Linked DNA regions of Homo sapiens: region 2 is linked to region 1. The links are contacts of gene promoters, found by promoter capture Hi-C in blood cells and fetal thymus (Javierre and others, 2016). All regions are on one chromosome and are shown on one strand. The core of a region is centred on a gene start or on the middle of the fragment in contact, and the rest is flanking DNA. Distances in the headings are between cores, read along the strand shown. Region 1 holds the start of INTS6L (integrator complex subunit 6 like). Region 2 holds the start of RBMX (RNA binding motif protein X-linked).

What was found. Contacts are between HindIII fragments. The CHiCAGO score rates a contact against its expected background, and 5 or more counts as called.
Region 2: the fragment with the promoter of RBMX here is called in contact with the fragment with the promoter of INTS6L in region 1 in 2 of 17 cell types (fetal thymus and erythroblasts); the score reaches 7.3 in fetal thymus.

The regions. Positions count from the first base shown.
Region 1 is chrX:135,516,135-135,523,564 of GRCh38, reverse strand. INTS6L (integrator complex subunit 6 like) reads right to left here and starts at 2,905. Exons shown (of 18, transcript NM_001351601.3): 1 at 2,462-2,905; 2 at 2,247-2,324. The coding sequence starts at 2,572. It overlaps INTS6L-AS1 (INTS6L antisense RNA 1), which reads left to right and starts at 2,891. Exons shown (of 2, transcript NR_046740.1): 1 at 2,891-2,998; 2 at 3,193-3,482. RefSeq lists silencers at 1,802-2,001, 2,062-2,331 and enhancers at 2,582-2,641, 2,672-2,751. The HindIII fragment of the contact is 2,771 bases long and covers 695-3,465 here.
Region 2 is chrX:136,878,058-136,885,487 of GRCh38, reverse strand. It overlaps RBMX (RNA binding motif protein X-linked), which reads left to right and starts at 4,763. Exons shown (of 9, transcript NM_002139.4): 1 at 4,763-4,891; 2 at 6,035-6,169; 3 at 6,365-6,471; 4 at 7,402-7,430. The coding sequence starts at 6,061. SNORD61 (small nucleolar RNA, C/D box 61) reads left to right here and starts at 6,217; the gene lies at 6,217-6,289. RefSeq lists enhancers at 4,640-5,238, 4,908-5,367, 5,378-5,437, 5,239-5,838. The HindIII fragment of the contact is 13,799 bases long and covers 1-7,430 here.

The DNA of each region.
Region 1 (7,430 bases), core at 1,656-4,155:
TAATGATGGTTGTTAAGAATGAGGTTTATTTCCTTTCCCAAGTTTCTGTAAATACTGTTTTGATAAGTTTTACAGATGGAAAACTATCTTTAAACAATCCTTCTTGGCATATGGAAAAATGATAAATAGGTTGTTCCTTTTTTTTTTTTTTTTTTTTTTTTTGACGACAGAGTTTCACTTTCTTGCCCAGGCTGGAGTGCAGTGGCATGGTCTTGGCTCACTGCAACCTCCGACTCCCGGGTTCAAGCAATTCTCACGCCTCAGCCTCCCGCGTAGCTGGGATTACAGGCGCCCGCCACCACATCCGGCCGTTTTTTTTTTTGTTTTGTTTTTTTGTATTTTAGTAAAGACGGGGTTTCACCATGTTGCCCAGGCTGGTCTCAAACTCCTGAGCTCAGGCAATCCGCCCATCTCGACCTCCCAAAGTGCTAGGATTACAGGCCTGAGCCACCGCACCCGGCCAATAAGTTGTTCCTTTAAGGAAAAGAAGGCACACTGCTTTGTGGTTTATCTTTTTTACTACTTCGAATTAAGGAGCATGTCTTCAAATGGCCACACTACAAATGGTCGGTTCTTATCTGTATTAGCAGTCGAAGAGTGTAGACATTCAGACCTAGGATGTATAAACATCTCCTTTTCTATGTGGAAAAAAATGATCACATCCTTTTGGGAAAACTGACATTTTTAAAAAGCTTACGGCATTTTGAAAGATGTCTACTTGTTCCACTTTTCTAAATGGATAGAATCACAAACTGAAAACAAATTATCGAAAAAAGAACAGTTTTAAGGGGAACCTACTAATTAAACAGTTAACCGAAGCTACGAGTTACAAAATTAGTTTCTCTTTGGTTTCCTTATGCTTGAAGGAACACTCTTTGGCCAACTATTCAGCTTGGTAGGTTCCATTCATTAAAACACCTCACTCTACAGAAACGGATCACAACACATCCAGACTGCGTCTCCCTAGCACTATTACGATTATTCTGAGGAAAAAAGAAAAAGCCTAACAAAAGACGTCAAGGATTGTGGTAGTATTTTTAAAATTTCAATATGCAAGCAGGACTCTTATGCAGGTTGATTTAACAGTTTAAATTCCATTTTATCTGGCCACTGCAGGCAAAGCAGCAGTTCTTTATCTCCTCACCATAGGAACATAAATTACCCCACAGAGACCGTCCTCCCTACTTTTCTCCTGTAGGTCAGAATCAAATCATCGAACTTGACTATTACAAATGCTCACATTTGAGTCCTCCCCTTCCTTTCTTTCTTGTCCCTGGATTAATTCCTACGTGGCTAGCACAAACCTAATTTATGATGTAAATAGGTAGAGCGGATCCCTAAAAAGCTCTGCCCCTGTGGGTTCGCACTTGGCACGTCCCCCTCCGTGTCGTTGCTTCGCTGGAATTTCCAATGAAACAGTAACAGTAGCTAAGGTAACTGAGAGCGGGGCTGAACCTGGCCAATTCCGGAGCAGAAACGCAAAGACTTTCTCCGGGTCTGGGGGTGGGGAGACTGGCGTCGCGGACAGATTTCCGATTGCGCGGGGGTGGTGAGAGGCCAACGAGTGCAAAGGCGGTTGTCTAGTCTTTGAAGGCCGGCGGCTGGCTCTGCCACGCTCTCAGCAGGAAGGGGAGGGGACCAGGAGGAAGAGGGGGAGAAGGAGGAGATGCAGCGAAGAGCCCAAGGAGGGGGAGGAAGACCGGGGGAGGAAGGAGGGGCCAGAGGAGGAGCCCAGGCTCCGGGAAAGCCCGCGCGCCCGGCCGGCAGGACCTCGGGGCGGAGTCGCAGGCTCCGTCCGGCCCCCCGCGCGGCGACCCTCGCGCGGTGCGCCTCGAAGGGGCGGGCCCGCCTCGCAGCCTCCCTCCGGGTTTCGGGCCCTCCTTCCCCGCTCCTCCCTCCCCTCCCTCCTTTCCATCTCAGCAGCGCCCTCAGTCTCCCTCTCGCAGGCTCATACAAAAGCAAAATGTCCGCCATGTTCCGAGGCGGCTGCGGTTGTCGCGCCACGAGCTCGGCCCTCCTGCGGTTTCTCCCCGGGGCTGCTCCTCCCCGGTCCCCTCTCCCCGACCCCAGGCGCGACAGCTACTCCGAAGCCGCCGACGGCACCACTCCGCCCGCCCTCTGCGCACCCCCTCGCCGCCCGCCCCGCCGGGCGACGCAGGACCGCCTTAGGCGGGGGCAGGGGGGTAAGCAGCCCCCGCCGACTTGCTCCCGCTTCCCGCCTGTCCCCCCACCCGTAGCCCCTTTACCTTGATGCAGTACGGGGGTTCGTCGTAGGTGACCAGCATGTACCTGTCTCCACGGCTGGCCGGGTCCCGGGCGCGCAGCTGCGGGGCAAGGGATGACGGAGGGGGTCGCGTAGGAAAGGAGGGGGGAGGGCGATACAAACGTTACAGAAGCACCTCAATCCACACCCTGAAATCCCTCGGGAGCTCTCCCCATCTCTCCCCTCCCCTCCCTTTACCTTCAAGAATAACTCCACAGCGCCTTTGGCAATGTCCAAATAAGAGGTGCCCAGGTCAGTGCGCTGGTTCATAGAGGCGGACGTGTCTATGAGGAACAGCAGGATGGGCATCTTCCCCCGCACTCCTGCCTCCGCTCCCCACTCTCCCGGCCCTCTTGCCCTCACTGCCGCGTACGGCCACCTGAACCCTCAACTCTCGCAGAGCCGGGGAGCAAGGAGCAAGAGGAAGAGGGGGAGACGGGACGGGACGGGACGGATGGGACCGCTCCTGGCCTCCTCTTTCTGCAGCCCCACCTCCTCTCCCTCCAAGGGAACTTGAAAGTGTGAGCGTGTGTAGCCCTCGGGGCCCTCCCCCTTCCTCTCTTCTGCTGCCACCACTACTGCCGCTGCCAGGACTACTGCCTAAGCATCCGTCCGCGCTCACTAGAGCGCTCGCCCCAGACTGAGCGCCGTCTCTGTTCACTGACAACTTCTGTCTGCTCACCTACCATCGGCACCATGTGACCAGAACCCATGCCATTGGCTGCCAATTATGTGGTATTTGCATATTCATTAGATGACAGGACTAGGGGAGGGACTTGGGCGAACCCTGGGAGTTGAAGTTTGAACCCAGGCAGAGGGTAAGGGGAAGTGTTACGGACCCTCGCTAGGATTCTCCTTTAAAGGACTTGGAAGCAGTTCGAATGATTAGTTCGGGTGGTTTAAATGGATTTTTCTGTCTCTCTTCAAAGATGGTGATTCGAAAAGAAGAGTGAATTTGAGCAACAGTTGTACAGAAGTACAGAAGCAGATGCTTGGACAGTTTGCACAGAAAATTCTTCGCTAACTGCAATCGATCAATCCTGCCAGTGGCGAAGACGAAAATATTTCAGAAGCAGCAAACTTCTTTCCTGGCAGGACGTACTCACATTCCTTTAGATCCCTCCCCCGTCTTGATCAGTATTTGTGAGTTGGTTGCTGGCCTTGCATTCCACATATATCTACTTAGAAAGGAAACTAAAGCTTAAACACAGTTACAGTTACCTAAACTGGCCTTTTGTATGCACAAGCTTCTTCAGTTTCACTAAGCTCTTTGAAACATTGGCCTGCCTGTGATAATTCCACCACTGTTCCCTCTGCGCAGCCTTTACACATGGAGGTTTGCAAACCTAGATTGTGATTCAACTCACATATTTATTTATTTATTTATTTTTATAAATAAATAAAGAGGATCTCGCTTGATCGCCCAGGCTGGAGTGCAGTGGCCCCATCATAGCTGCCTGCAGCGTCCAGCTCCTGGGCTTAAGCGATCCTCCCATCTCAGCCTCTCAAGTAGCTGGGACCACAGGGGCAGGCTCTCAACTCACATTTATTGAGTGCCTATGAAGAGCCAGGCACCCACGGTAGCCTTGTTTAATCTTTGAATTAATTATGGCAGATGGCATTGTATTCAATTTTCAGTAGAGGAAAATGCAGCTCCCTGAGGTTAGGGTAACAATTACGGATACTCTCAGGTCTGGCTCTGTGAAGAGACTCAGTAAGTGGCCAACCACACTTGATTGACTACTTCATATGACACAATTTTAAAAATTGGACTTGTGTATTCCTGGCAATTACTATTGACAATGTGGAATCCAGGACTTCAATGAGTTTGCAGTTTCATTGAGGAGAGATGATGACATATACATACATAATATTTTATATATTTTGGCCAGGCGCAGTGGCTCATGCCTGTAATTCCAGCACTTTGGGAGGCCGAGGTGGGTGGATCATTTGAGGGCAGGAGTTTGAGACCAGCCTGGCCAACATGGTGAAACCCCCGTCTCTACTAAAAATACAAAAATTAGCCGGGCATGGGAGCAGGCGCCTGTAGTCCCAGCTACTTGGGAGGCTGAGGCAGGAGAATCACTTCAACCCAGGAGACGGAGGTTGCAGTGAACTGAGATCACACCACTGCACTCCAGCCTGGGCAACAGAATGAGATAACATCTCAAAAAAGTATTTTATATATTTTATATACACTCTCTCTCTCTCTCTCTCTCTCTATATATATATGTATGTTCTGTGTATATGTTTCATATATTATATATGCACATTCAATAACATTCTCAGAGAAATACGATTTTAAAAGAAGTCATATGGCAGTATATGAATCAGGGACAAACAAGGATGCAAGTTAAAAAGTGCTATGGAAACAATGGTCCAGTCTAGAAATTCATAGGATTTCACGAACAAGGCACAAAAAGGGAAGAGAGGGAATCTGGGTTGGAAGGAATGATATGAACAAAAACTCAGCCAAAGATAGTACTATGTATGGTGCATTTCAGGCCATTCTGGTGGAAAGTAGGGAATTAATGAAGAAATAAGGATGAAAAAGATACTAGAAGCCCCCATTTCCATTCCGATACAAATGTCAGTGTAGAAGGGCAATGCCTACATGGGCTAGGGTACAAAAAATATAGGACTGTTGGGGGCAGTGTGTTAGTTTTCTACTGCTGTTTAACAAATTATTACAAATTTAGTGGCTTAAAACAACACAAGCATTTACTATCTCACAGTTTCCATGAGTCAGAGGTCTAAGTTTACCTGGGTTCTCTACTTAGTCTCATAAGTCTGCAGTCAACGTGTCAGCCAGGCTGTTTTCATCTGGAGGTTCACCTGGGAAAGAACTGGCTTCCAGGCTCATTCAGATTTCTGGCAGAATTCATTTCCTTGGGGCTGTTGCTGGTGACCAGAGGCCACCTTCAGGTCCACCTTCTGTTGCAGGTCTCTGCCATATGGCTTTCTCCATTGGCTGTTCACAACATAGCTGCTACTTCAGGGCCAGCAGAGAAATCTCTTACTCCAAGATGGAGCCTTATGTAATGTAGATAATCTCAACTAGAAGCAAGTCACAGGTCCCACCCACACTCAAGGAAAGAATATTATACAGGATGTAACACCAAGGATTGGAGATCATGGGGCCAGCTAAGAATTGTGCCTAATATTAGATAGGGATGGGATTATTAAGATGGGGATGTGATTATTTCCTGGAAACAAACTTTGCCTAGTTCACAGTTTTTATGAGATGGAATCTTGCTCTGTCGCCCAGACTGCAGTACAGTGGCATGATCTCGGCTCACTGCAACCTCTGCCTCCCAGCTTAAAGCGATTCTCCTGCCTCAGCCTCCTGAGTAGCTGGTACTAGAGGCATGTGCTACCATGCTCAGCTAATTTTTATATTTTGAGTAGAGATGGAGTTTCACCATGTTGGCCAGGCTGGTCTCAAACTCCTGACTTCAAGCGATCCACCCACCTCGGCCTCCCAAATTGCTGGGTTTACAGGTGTGAGCCACCGTGCCCTGCCTGTTAAAGTCAATTTTGAGTAATACTGTACAAACTTTCAGCCCACCGAATAAATGCATTGGGTTGACTTGTTGCTTAGACTAGCCTTTGGTTGAAGAATTACAAGATTTCCTATGAGGAGTTTATATTTTATTTTGTGAATATCTATATGTGTATGTGTGTATGAGAGAGGAGAATAAGGACTGCTGAGCCATGATATACCCCAGTTTACAAATGGTATTTTAAGATGACATTAAAATATCTCCTTTATACTTTCCTCCCAACTTTTCAATGAGTGTGCCTTACTTTTATAATCAGAAAAGGGGCTATGTTAAAAATTACATTAAAAGAATTGTAAAAAGTTCTTCCAACTTGAATATTACTGAGACAATTTTCAAAAACGGCTTACCAGCATTAGTGAAACACAAATAGTCTCAGTCACACAATGCTCCTGTGGTCAAGGATATGCATGGTGCCACAGAGTGACCTTCTAGGGACAAGATATTCTCCCCATGCAGGTGAATGCCTTTTAATTTTTTTTTTTTTCTAACAAGACATGTTATTGATTTTTTCTGGCATAAATGCAAATGGAATTGAAATGATGTCAACATAGAATTGAAAAATATTTGTGTCTCAGTATAAACTACAAAAATGGCAATATACAAAAAAAAAACAAAAAACAAAAACAAAAATGATGTAACGGATTTATGGGCTTATTCAGATTAAACCAATCCCCAAGCTGTCACCAAGAACCTTCTCTTCATCACTTCCTGGAGGAAAGTAAGTTCTGTATTATGCTAGAAATTGTGTAGACTTCTCCACTGTGTTTCTTTGGCATACATCAACACTAAACCATACAAAGCCCTTTCTACATCTTTCTCTGCTACAGAACATCAGCCTCTTCGTGTTATAGGTTATTTCTGCCATGGGTTTGTTTCTTGCACTAGAATGTAAACTCCTTGAGAGCAGCTAGAGCCTATAACCAATGCCTGGTGCAAAGTACTTGCTCCATAAATGGTTATTGAAAGAAATTGTCAAATGTGCTGTGGTTTTCATTCTTTCATCATCTTTCCAGGTGCTTGGGGTATTATCCTGTAGCTCCTTTCCTAGGGTTACCCAGCCCTCCTGTGTTGCCCCCTGCCTGCCATCTTTCATGGGAGCAGGGTGGTAGACCCAGCTCCCCTGTCCCTGTGGATCCCGGGCCATTTGGATTTGGGCTCCAGGAGGCCCCTTCAGGCCAAAGCATTGAACTGACAGTCCTTACTGCTTACCCAGAACCCTGGCAACTTCCCTTTTGTTCTACTCATGCTTCCTTATGAAATGGCTCTTTCTGGGGCCACTGCTCACTGTTTGTCTCCTTCAGTCAAATCCTCTTTCCAACTGCTCCCAAATTTCAGCCTCTATGGCCTGCATTAACCATCCTATCTTCTTTTCAATTTTCTCACTTTTTTTCAACTTGTGAGCTCTTGAAAAGAGTTTCCTCTTTCCTCTTCAAGTCCTTGCTCTTCATATACTGCTCTCCTGGCCTTCATTCTGTTCACATAAATGTCCACAGACTTTGCCCCATGTTTACATTTTATGTTGTGGTGTGGTCCACCACCATACAGCTGATGCTTTGTTTTGGTGAGAGTCAGTTTGATTTTTCACTCTCCTAAGTTTTGTCACC
Region 2 (7,430 bases), core at 3,514-6,013, 1.4 Mb before region 1:
TTAAATTAAAATAAAATACAATAAAATAAAATAAAAACTTCCTATGCACCCATCTCATGCTAAGTGCCATGAAGAATAAGAAGAGCTTGCAAGTCAATTCAGCCATTTATTTAGCACTGATTATATTCCAAGATTACCTAGTAGTGAAGTAATATCGTTTGACTCAGTGTATCCGTCGATCACTGAGATGGCATCTGAAGACAAAATAATAAGGCAAAGGGAAAATTATAGCAAAGAGAAAAACGCAACTACATTTAATGACAATATAAAAGAGTAAATAGAAAGAGGCAAAGAGAAAAATCTAGAAGATCCATGAGGAGGAGGGATGGGATTCGGAAATTACTTTTGGGCAGTGTGAGACCTGCTTATCCAACTGCCTGTTGGCCAGAGTCCCTCACACTCAGCACGCCCACGTCCCCCCTCTCCTGCATTACATCAGCAATACCCTTCTGATTTGTCTCCCTGCTTCCTGTCTCTCCCTCCCCCAATACAGTCTCCAGACTGCAACCACAGTAATCTCATTAAGATGAAATCTGATTACCTTACTCCACCTCTTAAAAAGGCTCCCCTCTCGGCCAGGCTCAGTGGCTCACGCCTGTAATCCCAGCACTTTGGGAGGCCGAGGTGGGTGGATCACCTGAGGTCAGGAGTTCGAGACCAGCCTGGCCAACATGGCGAAACCCCGTCTCTACTAAAAGTACAAAAATTAGCCTGGCATGGTGGTGGACACCTGTAATCCCAGCTACTTGGGAGGCTGAGACAGGAGAATCGCTTGAACCCGGGGGGCGGAGGTTGCAGTGAGCTGGGATTGCGCCACTTCACTCCAGCCTGGTCGAAAGAGCGAAACACCGTCTCAAAAAAAAAAAAAAGGCTCCCCTCTCCATTGCCCTCTAGATCTAGTCAGTAGCACTCTGCTTCCCCCACAAGCTGCTTCTTTTTCCTCTCTGTCCTGGACGATATGGCCAACTGATCCCCTCCTACAATTCCTTTAACTTAGCCATCCCCACCCCACCCACTCGCTTTTGGTCCTTGGGAATTGTGTTTGCATCCAACACCGCCAGCATGCTACTTCTCCTCCCCCACATTCCTGGGTGTGAACTGCAGAGGCCAAAGTGAGCTGGTCTACGGGGATGCACATTTCCTTTTTGAGACCCAGGAGGACAGGGTTATCTATTGTCGAGCCTGCCCCATTTTGCCCTAGACTAGAGGAGACCTGATTTACACTCAGAGCCTAGAGGAGAGTCCTGTAGTCTCTCTTTGGATTTGAGACAGAGAAAGAGAGTGCCTGCTTCCACAGGGTGAGGGATTTCTCCTGGCTACCTCTGGGAGTACAAGTTCTGCTTGCTGAGCCTGGTATTTAAGCCATTTTTGCCAGTTCCCAAATGACTCCAGAGTCTATAATTTACAGAACTCATTCAAAAGGCAAATGGACATGAGTTTTGCCTTACTTTTTATTATTTGGCTGGGGGAAAAAAAACAAGAACAAATATTCTTGTCCTACTGGGCATTACTCCCCCTATTAATGTTAATAATTCAGAGCTGGTTTCGAAGCTCCTTGGGGGCTTTTACCCGTGACCTGAATATTATTTACTACAACCTGCCTGGCATATACCAAAATTCACCATGGGCAGGTAATTGTAACTATGAAGAAGAAAAGGCCCGGCACGGTGGCTCAGGCCTGTAATCTCAGCACTTTGGGAGGGCGAGGCGGGCGTATCACCTGAGGTCAGGAGTTTGAGACCAGCCTGGCCAACATGGTGAAACTCTGTCTCTACTAAAAATACAAAATTAGCCGGGCATGGTGGCGTATGCCTGTAATCCCAGCTACTCAGGAGGCGGAGACGGGAGAATCGCTTGAACCCGGGAGGCAGAGGTTGCAGTGACCCAAGATCGCACCAGTGCACTCTAGCCTGGGCAATGAGAGCGAACCTCTTTCTCAAAAAAACAAAAAAACAAACAAAAAAAAAAGGAGAAGAAGAAGAAGAAAAGTGAAAATTGTCCATAAATTCTACCACTCCAAGATAAACTGGTAACATTTTGGCATATTTCCTCCCAGTTATTTTGTCTCCATATGTATTTTTTTAATAGCTCATATTATGTGATCTTGGGCCTTCTTTTCCCACTGTACTCTCTTGTTTGGTGGTTTCATTCATTCTGATGGCTTTTATTACATCTCTGAGATGATAATTTAGCACAGATCTATGCTCTGAGCTTCAGATTTTTCTGCCCCTATATCCCAAACTTGCTCCTCTGAAACCATTTTGGTAAATGACTGTTACCATCTGTCCCACTAATACCAGATACTTGGAGTCATCCATAATGATTTTCTTTTTCCGCAATTCTTCCCCACCCCTTTCCCATCTGTCTTAGTCCATTCCTGCTACTATAACAAAATACCATAAACTGGCTGGCTTATAAACAACAGAAATTTATTTCTCACATTTTTGTAGGCTGGGAAGTCCAAGATAAAGACGCCAGCATATTCAGTGTCTGGTGAGGGCCCACCACCACCAGTTTTCTGGTTCATATAAGTGGCACCTCACTGTGTTCTCACATGGTGGACAGGGGCCTCTTTTATAAAAGTGTTAATCCCATTCATGAGGACCCTACCCTTTTGTGACCTAATCTTCTCCCCAAATCCCCGCCTCCTAATGCCATCACCTTGGGTATTAGGATTTCAACATATGAATTTGGGGGAGGACACAAACATTTAGACCATAGCACCATTAAACACGATACCTATCATATTCATCTAACAATTGTTCTTTCCTCCCCGTGTCCACTGCCGCCACCCTGATTCAAGCCACCATCCTCTCTTTCTGGTCTGCTCCCACAGCCCTATTAGTGTCCTTTTTCCCACACTTACCCCCTACAGTCATTTAATGGGCTCAAAGGTCCTGCCAATCTTGGCTCCCTCATTTCATGCCCCTCATATTCTTGTCACCTGGCCCTCTTTCTGTCCCTTGATATATGCCAAGCTCTTCCTCTCTACTTTGTGTTTACTATTCTCTTCTTTTCCTGAAGGTTTTTCCCTCAGCTGTTCCCATAGCTAGTTTCTTTTCTTCCTTCAGCTCTGATCTCCAAAGTCACCTCTTCACATAGACCTTCCCTGATGTTTTAATCAAATTTGTTCTCCCTAATATTGTCCATCAAAGCAACTAGTTTATTTCCTCCCTGGCATTAATCACAACATGCCATTCTTTTGTTAATTGTATTCAATTTCTTTAAGAAAAAAATTAAAAAATTTTTTGGTTTCCCCCCTCAACAAGTAGGATGGGCAGATGAAATATAGAATGCTCAGTTAAATTTGAATTTCCGATAAACAGCGAATTTTTAAAATATGAGATTTGGGACATACTATACTAAAAAAAGTATTCGTTATCTGAAATTTAAACTTAACTGGGCGTCCCTTTTTTTTTTTTTAGACGAAGTCTCGCTCTGTTGCCAGGCTGGAGTGCAGTGGTATGATCTTGGCTCACTGCAACCGCCGCCTCCTGGGTTCAAGCAATTCTCCTGCCTCAGCCTCCCGAGTAGCTGGGACTACAGGCACACGCCGCCACGCCCGGCTAATTTTTTTATTTTTTATTTTTATTTTAGTAGAGACGGGGTTTCACCATGTTGCCCAGGCTGGTCTCAAACCCCTGAGCTCAGGCAATCTGCCCGCCTCGGCCTCCCAAAGTGCTAGGATTACAGGCATGAGCCACCGCGCCCCGGCCGCGTCCCATATTTTTATTTAAAATTTTTTAACAGCTTCGCAGAATAAATTAGCGTCCCGCATTTTCTTTTTTATTTTGAGACGGAGTCTCGCTCTGTCGCCTGCCCAGGCTGGAGTGCGGTGGCGCAGTCTTGGCTCACTGCAACCTCCGCCTCCCGGATTCTCCTGCCTCAGCCTCCCGAGTAGCTGGGACTACAGGCGCGTGCCACCACGCCTGGGTAATTTTTTGTATTTTTAAAAAGAGACGGGGTTTCACCGTGTTAGCCAGGATGGTCTCCATCTCCTGACTTCGTGATCCACCGACCTTGGCCTCCCAAAGTGCTGGGATTACAGGCGTGAGCCACTGCACCCGGCCTGGTATTTTCATTTATTAAATCCGGCATCCTTACCCACAGGCCTGACTCTTGTCTTTTCCCTGGAGTTGTATTTTCCTGGCCTAGCCCAGAGCCCACCATTTACAAGGTGCTCAGTAATTGTTCTATATGAATGTACTATCTGCATGCTGTTTTGTACGTTTTTTACTCATCTGAAATTTACATGTATTTATCAGAAATTCCCACACTCACTAAAAACACTTGTTAAAGACAATTTTTGAAAATATATTATATTGCCAAAACTTCTTTGTTTTCCGTTTCTGCAAAATTGGTATAGTAGGAGTATCTACCCTCATCACATTTTGACAATTAGAAGAGTTAATGGAAAAGTAAAAGTAAAGTTTTGCACCGTGCCCGGCCCACTAGGACGCTCAATAAACTTCAGTTCTTTATTAAAGGAAGCCTGTGCACCATTTTAGCGTAAAGCAAAAAAAGCGCGTTTGTAAAGAACGGGTGGGGGTAGAGAAAACGGTTAGAAAGGTCTGTCGACCCAACACCGAGGGCCCGGGAAAAAGGGAGGAGAGAAGGGTGAATGACAGAGGAGCCAGCCAATGGGGAGACTGGGAACTACTTCCCCCCTCCCTTTGCGTTTCAAATTCTAAGCTCCGTTTCCATCCGGGTCCTTCAGCCTCGTTCCCGGGCAGTATAAAGTTTGCTGTCTCCTTTGTTCGCCCTCGTTGCGCAGTAGTGCTAGCGGCTTCGCGGTTCGGTCCTCGCACCCGGCAGCCGCCACTGGTGCTGAGCTGCTAGGAAGCCCCTATCGCCGAGCTCGTTGGAGCTTGAACCCATTGTCACCCCTCCGGTACGTGTCTCCTTTCCTCAGTCCGTTTTTCGTGACACTCTCCCCGTGTTAGGACTGGGGATTATATCTCCCTGGAGATGGGGGTGGCGGGCGCCATTTTAAGAACCCAAAGGTTCCGACCTATTTAAATAAAGCTGAGGGGGTCGAGGGAAAACAAATGAGGGGGCCCGTTTGGTTGTATGCTTCTCGAGAAAGTTTGGCTGCCATCTGCGGGAGTTGGTAGCGGAGGTCGGGGCTTTGTAGGCTGGAGCGGGGCGAGGAGCGACCGCACCACGGCGATACCTGCATTGGTATGGCGCTGGCGCTAATGATGGGCATGTGGACTTCCATGCGGGCTGCGGGCTTCGTATTCATTGGCGGCCCCGGAGAAGAAGCCCTCTGAATGTTCCCAGCCAATGTTGGTGGTAAAAGTTAGTCCCCTGACCAGTGTCGGTGGTTCTGGGTTGAATCCAAGTGTCGCCATTTTGTCTTTTACACGCGGTTTTTAATGACGAGTTTTAATTAGGTTCCGCTGCAGTCACGGAGTGTCGAGTGTTAGTGTGTGCGTCCGCGTTCCGTTACTTAATAGCAAACGATGTTGACGATTTGTTTTTATCTTTTTGGCCGGATAGTAGAATTTTCGGTAGGGCGGGGGCCGGTGAAGAAGAGGGGCGGCATAACTTGGCTTAAACTTCACATTTCTCCTTGGATTTAGTAGGGAATCCTAATGAGGAAAAGAGGAGTCGTTGGAAGAGGGCTTGGTGTTAAGGTCCTGTGTCTAGCCTGTGACCTTGGGAGTCTTTTAAAACCATCGTTAGGAAGGGTGTGATGAGTAATTGAATCTTTCAAAGGCAAGAGGACTGGAACTAAAAGTTGCTTTTTCAAATGTTAAGCAGCTGTTGCTTAAGAACAGCTAAGGGTGATCAAGGGTAGTGGTAAAAGTTAAGTTGGCCCTTTTAACCAGTTTTATGTAAATTGCAGTGTTACTAAACTACTTAGTTCAAATTGCTTCCTACTGTGGCTGAGGCTTAGCTCGTTATCGTTTTCTTTAGTTATTAAGGAACAATGGTTTTAGTGGAAAATATGAGAAATGTGCGAAAGTAAAAGTGTCCAATAAACTTGAGGAACTTTTTGCAGTGAGGTAATACTATTCCTTTTCAACAGACTCACCGGCCCAAAAAAAAAAAAACATGGTTGAAGCAGATCGCCCAGGAAAGCTCTTCATTGGTGGGCTTAATACGGAAACAAATGAGAAAGCTCTTGAAGCAGTATTTGGCAAATATGGACGAATAGTGGAAGGTGAGTTGTCTGGCAGTACAGGCTGGGCTATTATAATTAAAATATAAGCTATGATGAATTTGATTGCATTGATCGTCTGACATGATAATGTATTTTTGTCCTCTAAGAAGTTCTGAGCTTTCTGTTTACACATTTACTTTGGTTATTTCATTTGACCTAGGGTAACACTTTATTTTTCTGAAAACTACTTTTTAGTACTCTTGATGAAAGACCGTGAAACCAACAAATCAAGAGGATTTGCTTTTGTCACCTTTGAAAGCCCAGCAGACGCTAAGGATGCAGCCAGAGACATGAATGGAAAGGTGAGATTGTCTACACGATGGATGATAACCTGTTACTAGTGCATAAAATAACATGTAGTTGTCCAAGTCTGGTCTAGGACAGCTTTTGAGTTTTCGTTGTTTTTCAGTATATACCTGTCTGGGATCCACTCATCCTGTTTGTGATCCTGTTCCAAAGAGTATTCTGTAATTGCAGAACCAAATCTAGTAGTGAGTTATATCTTATGCTCGTAACATTCTCTCAGTTCAGAATAATTATGGCATTACATGGTACTTTTTTTTTTTTTTTTTTGATAGTCTCCCTCCGTTGCCTAGCCTGGAGTGCAATGGTGCAGTGCCCACTGCAGCCTGTCTCCCGAGTTCTAAGCGATTTTTCTGCCTCAGCCCCCCCCCCCCCCCCCAGTAGCTGGGATTACAGGCATGCGCGACCACGCCCGGCTAACTTTGTATTTTTAGTAGAGACAGGGTTTCACCATGTTGGCCAGGCTGGTCTCAAACTCCTGACTTCAGGTGATCCAGCTGCCTCCGCCTCCCAAAGTACTGGGATTACAGGTGTGAGACACTGCGAGCCACTGCGCCCAGCCAACATGATACATTTTATCTTGAGATCCATAAGCCATATTTTGATAACTTGGCTTTTGGTTTTGGCTACTAGTTTTGATAACAAGCTGATACCTACTTGGCCTTGTTTTAAATTTTACCATACAATAATGCAGTGGGTTCACCTTATGTTTCAATCCAGATCATCAGTATCGGTTTTAAGTATTAAGAATTTTAAGCGGAAAAGCCCCATTTATGTAAACTGACTATATTTGCAGTGTTTTTTCTTAGACTAATGAGCAACACTTACCCATAACTGCATTTTGAAGGACCAGTTAGTGTCTTAGTGCATAGTAGATGTGCAAATTATTTTTAAATCTTGATTTAATTTAATCGTATCTTTTTTTTTAGTCATTAGATGGAAAAGCCATCAAGGTGGA